3 separate regions of the Homo sapiens genome follow, and regions 1 and 2 are each linked to region 3. Evidence: promoter capture Hi-C in 16 types of primary human blood cells and fetal thymus (Javierre and others, 2016). All regions are on one chromosome and are shown on one strand. The core of a region is centred on a gene start or on the middle of the fragment in contact, and the rest is flanking DNA. Distances in the headings are between cores, read along the strand shown.

Region 1 (4,186 bases), core at 669-3,168, 420 kb after region 3:
GAAAGGCAATAATAGTATTAATTAATTATTTGAAAATATTCACAGCCTTCAATTCCTGGGCTAAAGTGAGCCTCCCACCTCAGCCTCCCAAGTAGCTAGGGCTACAGGCATGCACCACCACACCCAGCTCTTTTATTATTATTATTATTATTATTATTATTATTATTATTATTTGTAGAGATGGGATCTTGCTATATTGCCCAGGCTGGTATCAAACTTCTGGACTCAAGCAGTCCTCTTGGCTTGGCCTCCCAAAGTGCTGGGATTACAGGGGTGAGCCACCATGCCCAGACTGGAAATACTTGGTCTGAGATGCTTACATTTTAGTCAAGGAGTGATGTTAAGTAGACAATTGGATATATTGTTGTACAGAGCTCACTGTAGCAGTCTGGGCTGCAGACGTGACTTAAATACACCTAAATACCTCAAGTGTGAGGCATTTGCGACTGGGAAAGAGAGCCAGTAAGGTAGAAACAGACTAGTTATGGCATGGAAGCAGAGCTGGTGGCCAACTATACTGCAAATTCGAGGATAGAGAAGTGGTTGCTGGATCTGACAAGGTGAAGGTCACTGGTGACCTTGCTAAGTACAGTCTAGTTGGAAGAAAGGAAGTGAAATATGCATGGATTGAGGAGGTAATCAGAGTTGAGAAAGTGAACATAACACTTTCAAATTGTTATTGGCATTATCACATCAACATTTTCTGTGTCACCACAGGGTTGTTCTAAATATTTTAATGCCTCCATAGCATTTATAGATTTTTTTATAATAAAATATTGACGTGCCTAATGTTCCATTGGCTTTCAGTAGGCTAATAATTGGTCTTTTTTTTTTAAAAGCCTTTTATGGGTCACAGGGAAATCTAAGAAAGCTGTAGAACTTCTCCCAGAAAGATGCAAAGAAGCTCATCCACACTAAAATGTGCACGTTTCAGAGAGTTAGAAGCCTGCAGTTAACTGAGGGTAGAAGCCCCCACTCAAAGCAATATTTTCCCAACCTGTTGCCAAAATCACCCCCACATCATTGTGCCATTTTCCTTCTCTGCAATTTATTTTTGGTAATGGAGTTAACTGGACAATAAGGAGTGAAGAGAAAAATCAAAGAAACTGAAAGAACTGACACAAGTTATATTGACCATTTATTGTTTGCATTGTTCTTCATTACATGACCCTCACACACTGACTTGACTCTGACTGGCTTAACAATATGTCAATAGAACATGGTGGTTGAGAGCATAGATGCTGGAACCAGGTTGTCTGGAGGTAATCCTGGTTCTGCCATTTATTAGTAGGGTCAGTTACCCTTTCAGAATGACATTTCCGTATATGTAAATGAAGCTAACAAAAGTAGCTACCTCACGGGTGGTGATTATGCAGAGTAAATAAGCTAATGGATAAAAGATGCTTAGAATGTGCCAGACACCATAATTGCGCAAGCTCAGAAATTACTTAACCTTTCTGAGACCCAATTTCCTCATCTATAAAATAGAGATGACAATAATACCAGTCTTTCAAGATACTGTGTTGGTGCATAGAGCATGAAATAAATGTTTGCTAAGTGGATAAATAAATGACCATTTATTCTCTACTACCTGGCTACCTGACAAGTTCCTTAAGGGCTGACACCTTATACTTTTTCAACTTTGTGTCATCAGTTCCCTTGAACATAAGAGTTGTTTAATGAATGTCTGTTGAATTAACAAAGCTTATAATACTTACATTGACCCGGACAAATTTAAGAGTAATATAGTTCCAGCATTGGATGTGAATTGCACCACATGATTTTTGGTATCTCTCAAAACTAAGTTTCTAAGCTTTAATGGAATACCGAAAGCATCCGTGAAGAGCACGAGTGTTTCTTATAAACATTTCCTTGCTTCCAGCGTTTGTCCTCTGTCAAGGTATAGGATGAATATCCTATACCATCCTTTATATCCTTTTTCCATTAGGGCTCTGCCTGTCCTAACTACTCCAGCCAGTAAATAACATACATTATTTTTTCATTCTTTTATTCTTAAGCTTTATAGGGCGCTCCTGGAAGTTTTGCTTTTTAATTTTTGTTTCCTTATTGCTTAGCGTGCTGCAATTTCAAGCCAAGAAACTTTAAGAGCATGTAAGAGCTAGGCCCAGTGGCTCATGCCTGTAATCCCAGAGCTTTGGGAGGTCAAGGTGAGAGGATTGCTTGAACCCAGAAATTTGAGACCAGTCTTGGGCAACAAGGCGAAATCCCATCTCTACAAAAAATACAAAAATTAGCCAGACATGGGGATGTGCACCTGTAGTCCCAGCTACTCAGGAGGCTGAGGTGGGAGGAACACTTGATCCAGGAGGTCAAGGCTCCAGTGCTGTGATCCTGCGACTGCACTCCAGCTTGGGTAACAGAGTGAGACCCTGTCTTGAAAGAAAAAAAAGGAAGGAAGGAGAGGGAGAAAGAAGGGAAAGTAAAGGAAAGGAAGGGAGGGGAGAGGAGGGAAAGGAAGGGAAGAAAGCACATGAGGAGTTTACCCAGCCTAGACAAGAAAGTGGAATCCAGAGAAGGCTTCTTGGGGGAAGTGACATCTAAGCTGAGACCTGGAAAATGAATAGGAATTAGCCAGGCAAGGAATGGACATGAATGGTGTTATCTAGGTAGAGGGAGGAGTATAGGCATTTGTCTCAAAATGGTTGAGACAAATTTGGTTACTTTTAGTTTCCAAGGCAAAGCCACACCCTGTCAAATTAGCATTGGCCATGGGTATCATCTTTAGCATCCTTGGACTAATAATAGGAAAGAATAGGGACAAGATGAAGCTCAGAGGTAAGAAGAGCCTTGGTTTTCTCATCTGTAAAGTGAGATAGACATATGAGAAAGTCAACAGTCATATGAGACAGTTGAAAGATTAACACATTGTATCACTTCTCACAGTCATATGAGACCGTTGAAAGATTAATTAATACATTGTATCGCTTCTCAGCCTTTTGGCTAAGATCAAGTCTAGTAATTAACACATTGTATGTGGTGATCTGGAAGGGGGCAAGTCGACCTAGTGGCATGGTCTTGTTTAGAAAGCAGTTCAAGGAGTGCTGTGTATCAGGGCAGAGAGGATTTGACTCAGAACAAGGGACCAAGGAAGTGAATGTAAAAAAAAGAAAGAGAAGAGAAAGTTTTAGTAATTCTTTGTTGGTTTTTTCTTAAATAGAGACAGGGGTCTCACTACATTGCCCAGGCTGGTCTTGAACTCCTGGGCTCAAGCGATCCTCCTGCCCAGCCGAGTAGTTCTTGACTGTGGTAGTAAGGAAAGCTGATCCACGTATCTCTTCTTGAGAAAACTGTGTATTGTTGACAGTGTGTGTAAATCAGGAAGCAGTGAGAGCATGGAGTTTGGATTTGGGACAACTGGGTCCCAGTTCTAGCATTTTTCATGTATTAGCCAGTAACTGGGCAACTGACTTAACCTTTCAGCCTCAGTTTCCTCATCTTTAAAACAGGCATAATAACTAGTTCTGCCTTTTCCCTTAACGGTTGCTAAGAAGACCATTCGATATAAAGCAGGCAAAGTCCCCTGTAACCAATACAGAGGAGTTACAGAAACACTAAGTATTGTTTCCCTTTGCATTGTGTGATCATGTTCAGCCCTGATACCACAGAGCTTCTATTCTCCTTTCCTTATTTTGAAGCTCAGGCATTAGAAACATTAGACCAGAAATTGCGGATTTGTGGGGCCTATAAGCTCAGGTAGCCCACAGATAAGTTTTGTTTACCAAACATATTCTTCTTCTTCTTTTTTTTTTTAAGAGAGTGTCTCGCTCCGTTGTCCAGGCTGGAGTACAGTGGCACGATCGTCACTTACTGCCAACCTCAAGCTCCTTGGCTCAAGCGATCCTCCCACCCCAGCCTCCCTGGTAGCTACAGATACTACAGGTGTGCATCACCATGTCCAGCTAATTTTAAAAACATTTTTAGAGGTGAGTCTTGCTGTGTTGCCCAGGCTGATCTCGAACTACTGGGCTCAAGTGATCTTCCTATTCCAGCTTCCCAAAGTGCTGGCATTACAGACATGAGCTGCCATGCCCAGCATACCAGATGATATTCTTGAAATTTATTTTTATTTTTTATAATCAGATACTCTCTCAGCAGAATCACAAATGTTTTAATTTGTTAAAAATCTGAAAATTTTAGGTAAAACTCTAGATTTTCAACTTCTCTT
Region 2 (4,188 bases), core at 500-2,999, 260 kb after region 3:
CAGGCTTCAGCTGGAATGTCACCTTCTTTGAGCCCTTTCCTGGCCCTTCTATCTAAAACAGCCTCTTCTTCCTAGTTACACTTTATCACCTTACCCTTCCTCTCCTCCAGAGAATTTATTGCTAACTGTATATATCTTACTTACCTACTTGTTTACATGTTGAAAGCTTCAAGTTGTGCCTCTTTTGGGACAAAGCCCCAGGAGAAAGCATGCCTGGGCTCAATGGCCAGGACTCAGTAAATATTTATTTATTTATTTATTTTTATTTATATATATTTTTAAGATGGAGTTTCACTCTTCTTGCCCAGGTTGGAGTGCAATGGTATGATCTCGCCTCACCGCAACCTCCACCTTCCAGGTTCAAGCGATTCTCCGGCCTCAGCCTCCCGGGTAGCTGAGGTTACAGGCATGCGCCACCGCACCTGGCTAATTTTATATTTTTAGTAGAGACGGAGCATCTCCATGTTGGTCAGGCTGGTCTTAAACTCCTGACCTCAGGTGATCCACCTGCCTTGGCCTCCCAAAGTGCTGGGATTACAGGCATGAGCCACCATGCCCAGCCTTATTTATTTATTTTTGAGATGGAGTCTGCTCTGTCACCCAGGCTGGAGTACAGTGGTGCAATCTTGGCTCACTGCAACTTCTGCTTCCCGGGGTTCAAGTGATTCCCCTGCCTCAGCCTCCCCAGTAGCTGAGATTACAGGCGTCCGCCACCATCCCTAGCTAATTTTTGTATTTTTAGTAAAGACAGGGATTTGCCATGTTGGCCAGGCTGGTCTCAAATTCCTGACCCAGGTGATCTGCCCACCTTGGCCTCCCAAAGTGCTGGGATTACAGGCATAAGCCACCGCACCCGGCTAATTTTTGTATGTTTAGTAGAGACAGGGTTTTGCCATGTTGGCCAGGCTAGTCTTGAATTCCTGACCTCAAGTGACCCACCTGCTTTGGCCTCCCAAAGTGCTGGGATGAATATTTATTGAATGAATGAATGATCAAACATGCATAGTGCCCAAGGGCACACAGCTGTACATGATAAACTTATAATTTAATAGGAGTGTGAATACAGGTTGTGCTTGGAATGGTTGTGGATAGACAGGGGTTCTCCAGCCCTGGAGAGGCAGTTTGTGGGAACAGAAGACTAATAACTGTCCCCTGTATGAATACTTCAGCCTCACTTCTTTCCTTAGCTAGTACTTAACCTCACTTTCCTCAGCTGTAAGTGAGAGCAATAACACCAACTTTGGTGTCCATTAATGGAAGTCTCTTTTCTCCATGCCTGCCAATGAGGCTTACAGGAGGTGCGCTGACTCTACAGGAGCACCTCATTGTGTGTATTTAGGGGATGGCAGGGAAGACTGGAATCACTCATCTTGAGCCAATGGTTACCGTTTCATTAAACGGATTGAGACCCTAATGGGACTGTTGGGAGGTTAGCTAGAGAGGGCCCACCAGAGGTCTATTTGCATGAAAGATCAGGAGCCTTCTAAGAAGGTTCTTATTCTAAGGAATCACTTAGTTACTGTAGGACAAAGCCAATTCTGAATGTTGCATGTTGCTACTCGCTCAGATTTGAAGAGTTTATGTATCATGTTGAAACCAGAACTAAGTTTTTTTTTTTCTCTTTTTTTTTTTTTTTTTTTTGGAGACATCTTACTCTGTCTCCCAGGCTCGAGTGCAGTGGCTCGATCTCAGCTCACTGCAACCTCCCCCTCCCGGTTCAAGCAATTCTACAGCCCCCCAGGTAGCTGGGACTACAGCCACGTGCCACCACGCCCGGCTAATTATTGTATCTTTAGAAGACAAGTTTTCACCATGTTGGCCAGGCTGGCCTCAAACTCCTGACCTGAAGTGATCTGCCCGCCTCAGCCTCCCAAAGTGCTGGGATTACAGGCATGAGCCACTGCACCCGGCCGAGTAAGTTCTTTTGACTTGACACAGAAGTTTTTATGAGACGTGATGGGGAAAGGACTACCCTGCACGGCTTGAACCTTTCTGTGTGTTGGCACATCGGAGAGTGCACCTGAATATCTCCCCATTGTAGGCTGAGAGAACACGCACGCATGGGCTTTGCATGGGGGTTAGGAGTCTTACAGTTTTATGCATAGAAAACAGAGCCTGAGAAATGCTATGTATTATTGTTAATAAATTTCTCCCTTTTCAGTTCATCTTCTTCCCAGTATCTCCCCAACAGAATGTTTTACAGCTGTTGAAAAGAACGAAGTAACTCTACATGTATTGATACAGAATATTTGCCAAGATATGTTATTTTTAAGTGTAAAAAGATACAGAACAGTGTAAATATTATGCTGCTATTTATATTAAAGGAAATATGCATGCATCTGTATATGCATATAATACATTTAGAAAGAAACACAAGACCATTAATAGTAATTAGTTTGGCCAGGCGCAGCGGCTCACGCCTGTAATCCCAGCACTTTGGGAGGCCAAGGAGGGTGGATCACCTGAGGTTGGGATTTCGAGGCCAGCCTGACCAACATGGAGAAACCTCGTTTCTACTAAAAAATACAAAATTAGCCGGGTGTCGTGGTGCATGCCTGTAATCCCAGCTACTTGGGAGGCTGAGGCAGGAGAATCGCTTGAACCTGGGAGGTGGAGGTTGCGGTGAGCCGAGATCGCACCATTGCACTCCAGCCTGGGCAATAAGAGCAAAAGTCTATCTCAAAAAAAAAAAAAAAAGTGATTAGTTCTGAGAAGGAGATTCTGGGTGAGGAAGTTAGGGTTGTAGATATATATATATATATATTTAAAATGATGCATTGCAAAAATAAAATTGAAATTGAAAATGACTCAGCCTGGACAACATAGTGAGACTTCAACTCTACCAAAACATTAAAAAAAAAAAAATAGCCAGGCATAGTGGCACATGCCTGTAGTCCCAAGTGGGAGGATTGCTTGAGCCTGGAGGTTGAGGCTGCAGTGAGCCAAGATCACACTACTTCATTCCAGCCTGGGTGACAGAGTAAGACCCTGCCTCAAAGAAAAAAAAAAATACTGGTGAATTACTCTGAAGTTTCTCATAGTATTGATGACGTACTTACTCTTCCCAAATAATAGGAAAAGAAGAACACGCCATTTAGAGAATAATTTGTAAATATTTTCAGTTTTCATATGTGTATGTGTGTATGTGTTATTTCTTTTTATAAGGAAATTTCTTATTTTGGGTAGGCCAGTTTTTTTTTTTCCCAGAGGCAGAGCACAGAAATAGTGCTGAGGAGGTCTGGTTCTGATGTCAGACAGCTTGGACTCTAATTCTAGCTCTGCTGCTTACTAGCTATGCACCTTGGGCAAATTGCTTAACTTACCTAAGCTTCAATTTCATTGCCTTTAAAATATGGAAGAATAATAGTATTTACTTAATGGTGTTGTTTATAAAGATTTATTTATTTATTTATTTATTTTGGAGATGGAGTCTCACTCTCCCAGGCTGGAGTGCAATGGCGCAATCTTGGCTCACTGTACCCACTGCCTCCCAGGTTCAAGCGATTCTCCTGCCTCAGCCTCCTGAGCAGCTGGGATTACAGGCACCACTACCACACCTGGCTAATTTTTTGTATTCTTAGTAGAGACAAGGTCTTACCATGTTGGCCAGGCTGGTCTCGAACTCCTGACTTCAGGTTATCCGCCTGCCTCAGCGTCCCAAAATGCTGGGATTACAGGTGTGAGCCACCGCACTCAGCTATAAAGATTTTTTTTTTTTTTTTTTTTTTTTTTTGAGATGGAGTCTCGCTCCGTCACCCGGGCTGGAGTGCAGTGGCGCGATCTCGGCTCACTGCAAGCTCCTCCTCTCGGGTTCACGCTATTCTCCTGCCTCAGCCTCCCAAGTAGGTGGGACTACAGGCGCCCACCAGCACGCCTGGCTTATTTTTTTGTATTTTTAATAGAGACGGGGTTTCACCGTGTTAGCCAAGATGGTCTCGATCTCCTGACCTCGTGATCCGCCCGCCTTGGCCACCCAAAGTGCTGGGATTACAGGTTTAAGCCACCGCGCCCGGCCAGCTATAAAGATTTAATGAAGTACAATAGTTGCCCCTTATCTGTGGTTTTGCTTTCCTTGATTTCAGTTACCCACGGTCAACCCTGGTTGAGGAAAATAGGTGAATACAGTACAGTAAGACATTTTGAGACAGAGAGATTACATTCACATAACTTTTATTACAGTGTATTGTT
Region 3 (4,302 bases), core at 863-3,362:
TAATATGTAAATGAATAGCAATGGCAAATGACAATGGGAATGTCTATTAAGAAATATATAATAAGCCTGGCGCAGTGGCTCACTCCTGTAAATACCAGCACTTTGGGAGGCCGAGGCAGGCGGATCACTTGAGGTCAGGAGTTCGAGACCAGCCTGGCCAATATGGTGAAACCCCGTCTCTACTAAAAATACAAAAATTAGCCGGGCGTGGTGGCAGGCACGTGTAGTCCCAGCTATTCAGGAGGCTGAGGCAAGGGAATCGCTTGAACCCAGGAGGCAGAGGTTGCAGTGAGCCGAGATCACCACATTGCCCTCCAGCCTGGGTGACAGAGCGAGACTCTGTCTCAAAAAAAAAAAAAAGAAAAGAAATACATAATAAGCATACCAATCCATTGACAAGATATTTTAAAATGTAGGCTCGATCAAATTTTTGTTTTTAAAGGATGCATGAGCCTGGCCAACATGGTGAAACCTTGTATCTACTAAAAACACAAAAGTGAGTCGGCCGTGGTGGCACGCGCCTGTAATCCCAGCTACTTGGAAGGCTGAGGCAGAAGAATCGCTTGAACCCTGAAGGCGGAGGTTGCAGTGAGCCGAGATCGAGCCACGGCACGGCACTCCAGCCTGGGTGACAGAGTAAACCCCTGTCTCAAAAACAACAACAAAATGGATGCATGCATGGAGGGCATGAAATATTTCCACTGTATTTCTGTTAATCCAACCTCAACCTCCATGAGTCCTCCACAAGGCCTACACTCAAATGATTATAAAGGGACTTCACTATTTGGAGCAGAGAATAGAAAGTAATGTCACAGAATGTGCAATGTAATATTTATCCCACGTAGTATAAACTATAGATGGGAGTGAACTCCACTCTGCCCCCTATCCCTCCACACTCAGCCCAAAGGGTGCTTCTGATGAACAGCTATCCAAAGCCTATATTTACTCCTTATTTTGTACAAAGGTCAAATGTAATTATTGCTAATAAAATGTTGGGGTTTTTTTAATCCCTAGGTTGTGATGACAAAAAAATTATTGCCTTGATAACATTCCAGTTTGTTTTTCTTGAAAAAGTCGATGAAGCAAAGAGGAAGTTACCTCTTAACTCATCTTTGATCAGTGCTACCGGTCATTTCAAGATCACTAGCTCAACCTTCCAGAAACGAACGGTTACGAAAGTATTCAAAGGGCGTCTCGGGCTTGGCACAAGTCCCTGTGCCAGGCAGGACGGAGATGGGGGTGTTCAGTCCCCAGTGTGCAAAGCACCCGACCGCGGGTCCGTCTCACAGGTTGGCGCCGCATGGGATAGCGGCTGGGCAGGCGCCCTCCGGCCCGTCCGCGGCCGTGGGGAGGATCTGCGCGGACATAGGACCTGGGGCAGTGACCTTAACAGCCCCTCCGCTGCCCAGGGGAGGCTTGGGATGGTCACGGGATTGGGATAGTGGCGTGACAGTCTCCAGGCGGCCCAGGGCGGACACCGCCCGGGGCAGTGGCCAGTCCGCCCCTCCGGGGCCCGGGAGAGGCTCAGCCGCGCGTGGGTCCGCCCTTCCCCCGGCGCCTCCAGCGACCCGCCCGCAGCGCATCTGGGGCCCGGCTCGGGCGATCGGCCAGCCCTACCTCTTCGGTGGCCGTGGGACAGTAGGAGATGAGCACGAGCGTGGTGACCACGTTGACGGCGAGCCCCAGCAGGGTGATGGAGTTGGGGGCCATCCAGAGCGGGATCCACTGGAGCAGCCAGGTCCAGTAGAGCTGCAGCGGCGGCTCGAGCAGCGAGACGCCCGCCGCGCTGTAGCGGTGCTCCTCCAGTCGCCGCAGCTGCGCCGCGCTCAGCGGCTCGCTCAGCGCCCTCAGCCAGCGCGGCGCGGACCCGGCCCCGGCGCCTGCCGCCATGGCCGCCTGAGGGCCCCGCCGCCGCCACCGAGCGCAGCCCGCGCCTGGCGCTGGGGGCAGGGAGAGGTGGAGGGAGAGGCTGGCGGCCGGGTCCTGCGACTGCCGGGCTGGACTCACCGGTCGGGCCCGCACGGCGGAGGTCGAGGTCAGGCCGGCCTGCCCGGCTGCCGGGGCCCCAGCCCCAGAAGCTGTGGGGCCGCGGCTGCGGCTCGCGGGTGGGGCGGGGCCTCGGGGAGGGGTCCGGCTGGGGGCGGGGCGGAGGGGGTCCTGCTAGGGGCGGGGAGGCGGGTGCCGCGCTCGCGGGTCACCCTCGGCGCCCGCCAACGGCAACTTGTTATCGGCGATCAAGGTCCTTGACTCCCCAGGGGCCGGCTGCACTGCGCCTGAGGTCTGATGTCTTAACCCACGGCGTCGGATTACGCCCTGAGGTCGTCTCCTCGCGGGCTGCACCACGACCGAGCCGGTTCCTCTCCTAGGGGTCGGAACACGACTCCGGTCGCCCAGTGTTAGCCACTGCAGGACCACGCTGCCCGCAGAGCCTGGGGGTTTTCGTGTGAGAACACAGTTTTGCAGGGCTCGGGTCACGGGGGTGACGGCCCCATCTGTCCTGCTTGGTAAAACACACAAGCACAATTCTCCCTTTCTGTACGGAGGAAGGCGGCCCTGCCATGTATTCGCTCTAGAGACCCATCACTGCGGATTCAGAGACCAAGGTTTTGAAACTGAAAATCAGGGCTTAGAAACACTAACAAGGAGACCGAATGGCTGAAACCCCGATACCTATTTTCTTCAGCGCATTTGATACCAACAAGGGTGAATATTTTTACACATACTCTTCCCTGGAATAAAGGGCAGGAGTGTCCTCCCCCTGCAAGGGGGAACAGGCTGGCTTGCCACACGCATTGGTAGGTCACCGGCCCCTTATCTCACAGTGCACTCACTTGGACAGGGGACATCTGTCATAAACACGTTCTGTTGCACAACCTGAGACAGGCCTGTCACTTGCTTTGCTCTTCACTTCATGGCTCTGATCTGCACGCACTTTCTAAGGCCTAGGACAAGCCAGAAATTGCTTCCAAGACACTTGTGTGGCGCAACCTCTATCGGCAAGTGCAGTTTGCCTCACGGGCTTCGTCAAACACTTGGCACAGGGGTCCACGAACTGCTGCCTGTGTGCCAGACCCAGCCCACCACCTGTTTTCCTACAGCCCTCCAGCTAAGTATGGTTTTGACATTTTTAAATGATTGGAAAAAATCAAAAGAATACAATTTTGTGTTGTGAAATTATATGAAATTCAAAGTTCAGTGCCACGAATAAAGCCATGTTTATTCCTTACCTATTGTTTGGCTGCCTTCATGCTACAAGGGCAGCAGAATTCAGTTGTGACAGACCGTATGGCTGGCAAAGCCTGGACTATGTCCTACTAGGCCCTTTAAGGAAAAAACTGGCAACCACTGCCTTAGAGCAATGAGGGTCTCTACAGACCAAGCGTATATGTCTTAGGAATATGGATCTCCTCATCTTTAGTGTGAAAAACGATGCTGACAAATGCAGGAAAGGAAATGGAATGATGGAGATCCACTTTTAACAATGCTGGTTTATGTGCAGTGAACTTGACAGTAACTACTTTTTAATTTACCGATGCCATGAACAGTCCAAGGAAAAAATCCTTTTCTAGATTAGCCGATTTCACTGTATTAAAGATAATTTTTAATGTACATCAAAAGACGTCATCAAGAGAATGAAAAGACAAGCCATAAACTGGGAAAAGGTATTTCCCTCAAAACCCACAATGAGTAGAACCCAGATTATGTAAAGAACTCCTAAAAATCAATCAGAATAAAAAATAATCAACTGGGCTATGTTCTGTTTCTATAGGAGAAGCCCTGGAACATGGTAATGTTCCAGGGTGCACTTATGAACATGAGTGAATTGCACAAGCATATGTTGACTGAAAAAAAAAAAGAAGCAGGTGTATTAGTCAGCTTGGATTGTCATAACAAAATACCACAGACTGAATAGCTTAGACAACAGGAATTTATTTCTCTCTCACATAAAAGAAGTACAGAATTGGCACTCCAAGACTGGTACGATGTTTCCATGGTCATCAGGAACTCAGGCTTTTCTGTCTCTCTGCTCCAATATCCTCTCTGACTTGTATCTATAAGGCCATCTCATGATTCAGAATGGCTGGTGAAGCTCCAGTCATCTTATTTGTGTTTCAAGCAGCAGGAAGGAGTAAGAGGACAGGAAAAACAAAAAGTAGATATCACTGGCTGGTGAGCAAACTGGGGTGCCTCTCCAAAACTCCCAAACAACACTTCTCCATACAGTAGTCTCCCTTTGTCCCTGGTTTTACTTTTCTGCAGTTTTAGATACCCACAGTCAACCACAGTCCAAAAATATTAAAT

What was found. The method cuts DNA at HindIII sites, captures the fragments that hold promoters and counts their contacts. A CHiCAGO score of 5 or more calls a contact.
Region 1: a contact is called between a fragment that was not itself captured here and the fragment with the promoter of CHPT1 in region 3, in 1 of 17 cell types (total CD8 T cells). The highest score is 5.3, in total CD8 T cells.
Region 2: a contact is called between a fragment that was not itself captured here and the fragment with the promoter of CHPT1 in region 3, in 5 of 17 cell types (M1 macrophages, M0 macrophages, monocytes and 2 more). The highest score is 12.7, in M1 macrophages.

The regions. Positions count from the first base shown.
Region 1 is chr12:101,274,910-101,279,095 of GRCh38, reverse strand. No RefSeq gene overlaps it. Among named protein-coding and RNA genes, the nearest start is that of UTP20, 3.1 kb to the left of the region's middle. The HindIII fragment of the contact is 205 bases long and covers 1,816-2,020 here.
Region 2 is chr12:101,432,129-101,436,316 of GRCh38, reverse strand. No RefSeq gene overlaps it. Among named protein-coding and RNA genes, the nearest start is that of ARL1, 26 kb to the right of the region's middle. The HindIII fragment of the contact is 3,162 bases long and covers 169-3,330 here.
Region 3 is chr12:101,695,450-101,699,751 of GRCh38, reverse strand. CHPT1 (choline phosphotransferase 1) reads right to left here and starts at 2,112. Exons shown (of 9, transcript NM_020244.3): 1 at 1,618-2,112. The coding sequence starts at 1,890. It also overlaps a transcript of MYBPC1 not described here. RefSeq lists silencers at 1,379-1,568, 1,829-2,168 and an enhancer at 2,389-2,638. The HindIII fragment of the contact is 18,657 bases long and covers 1-4,302 here.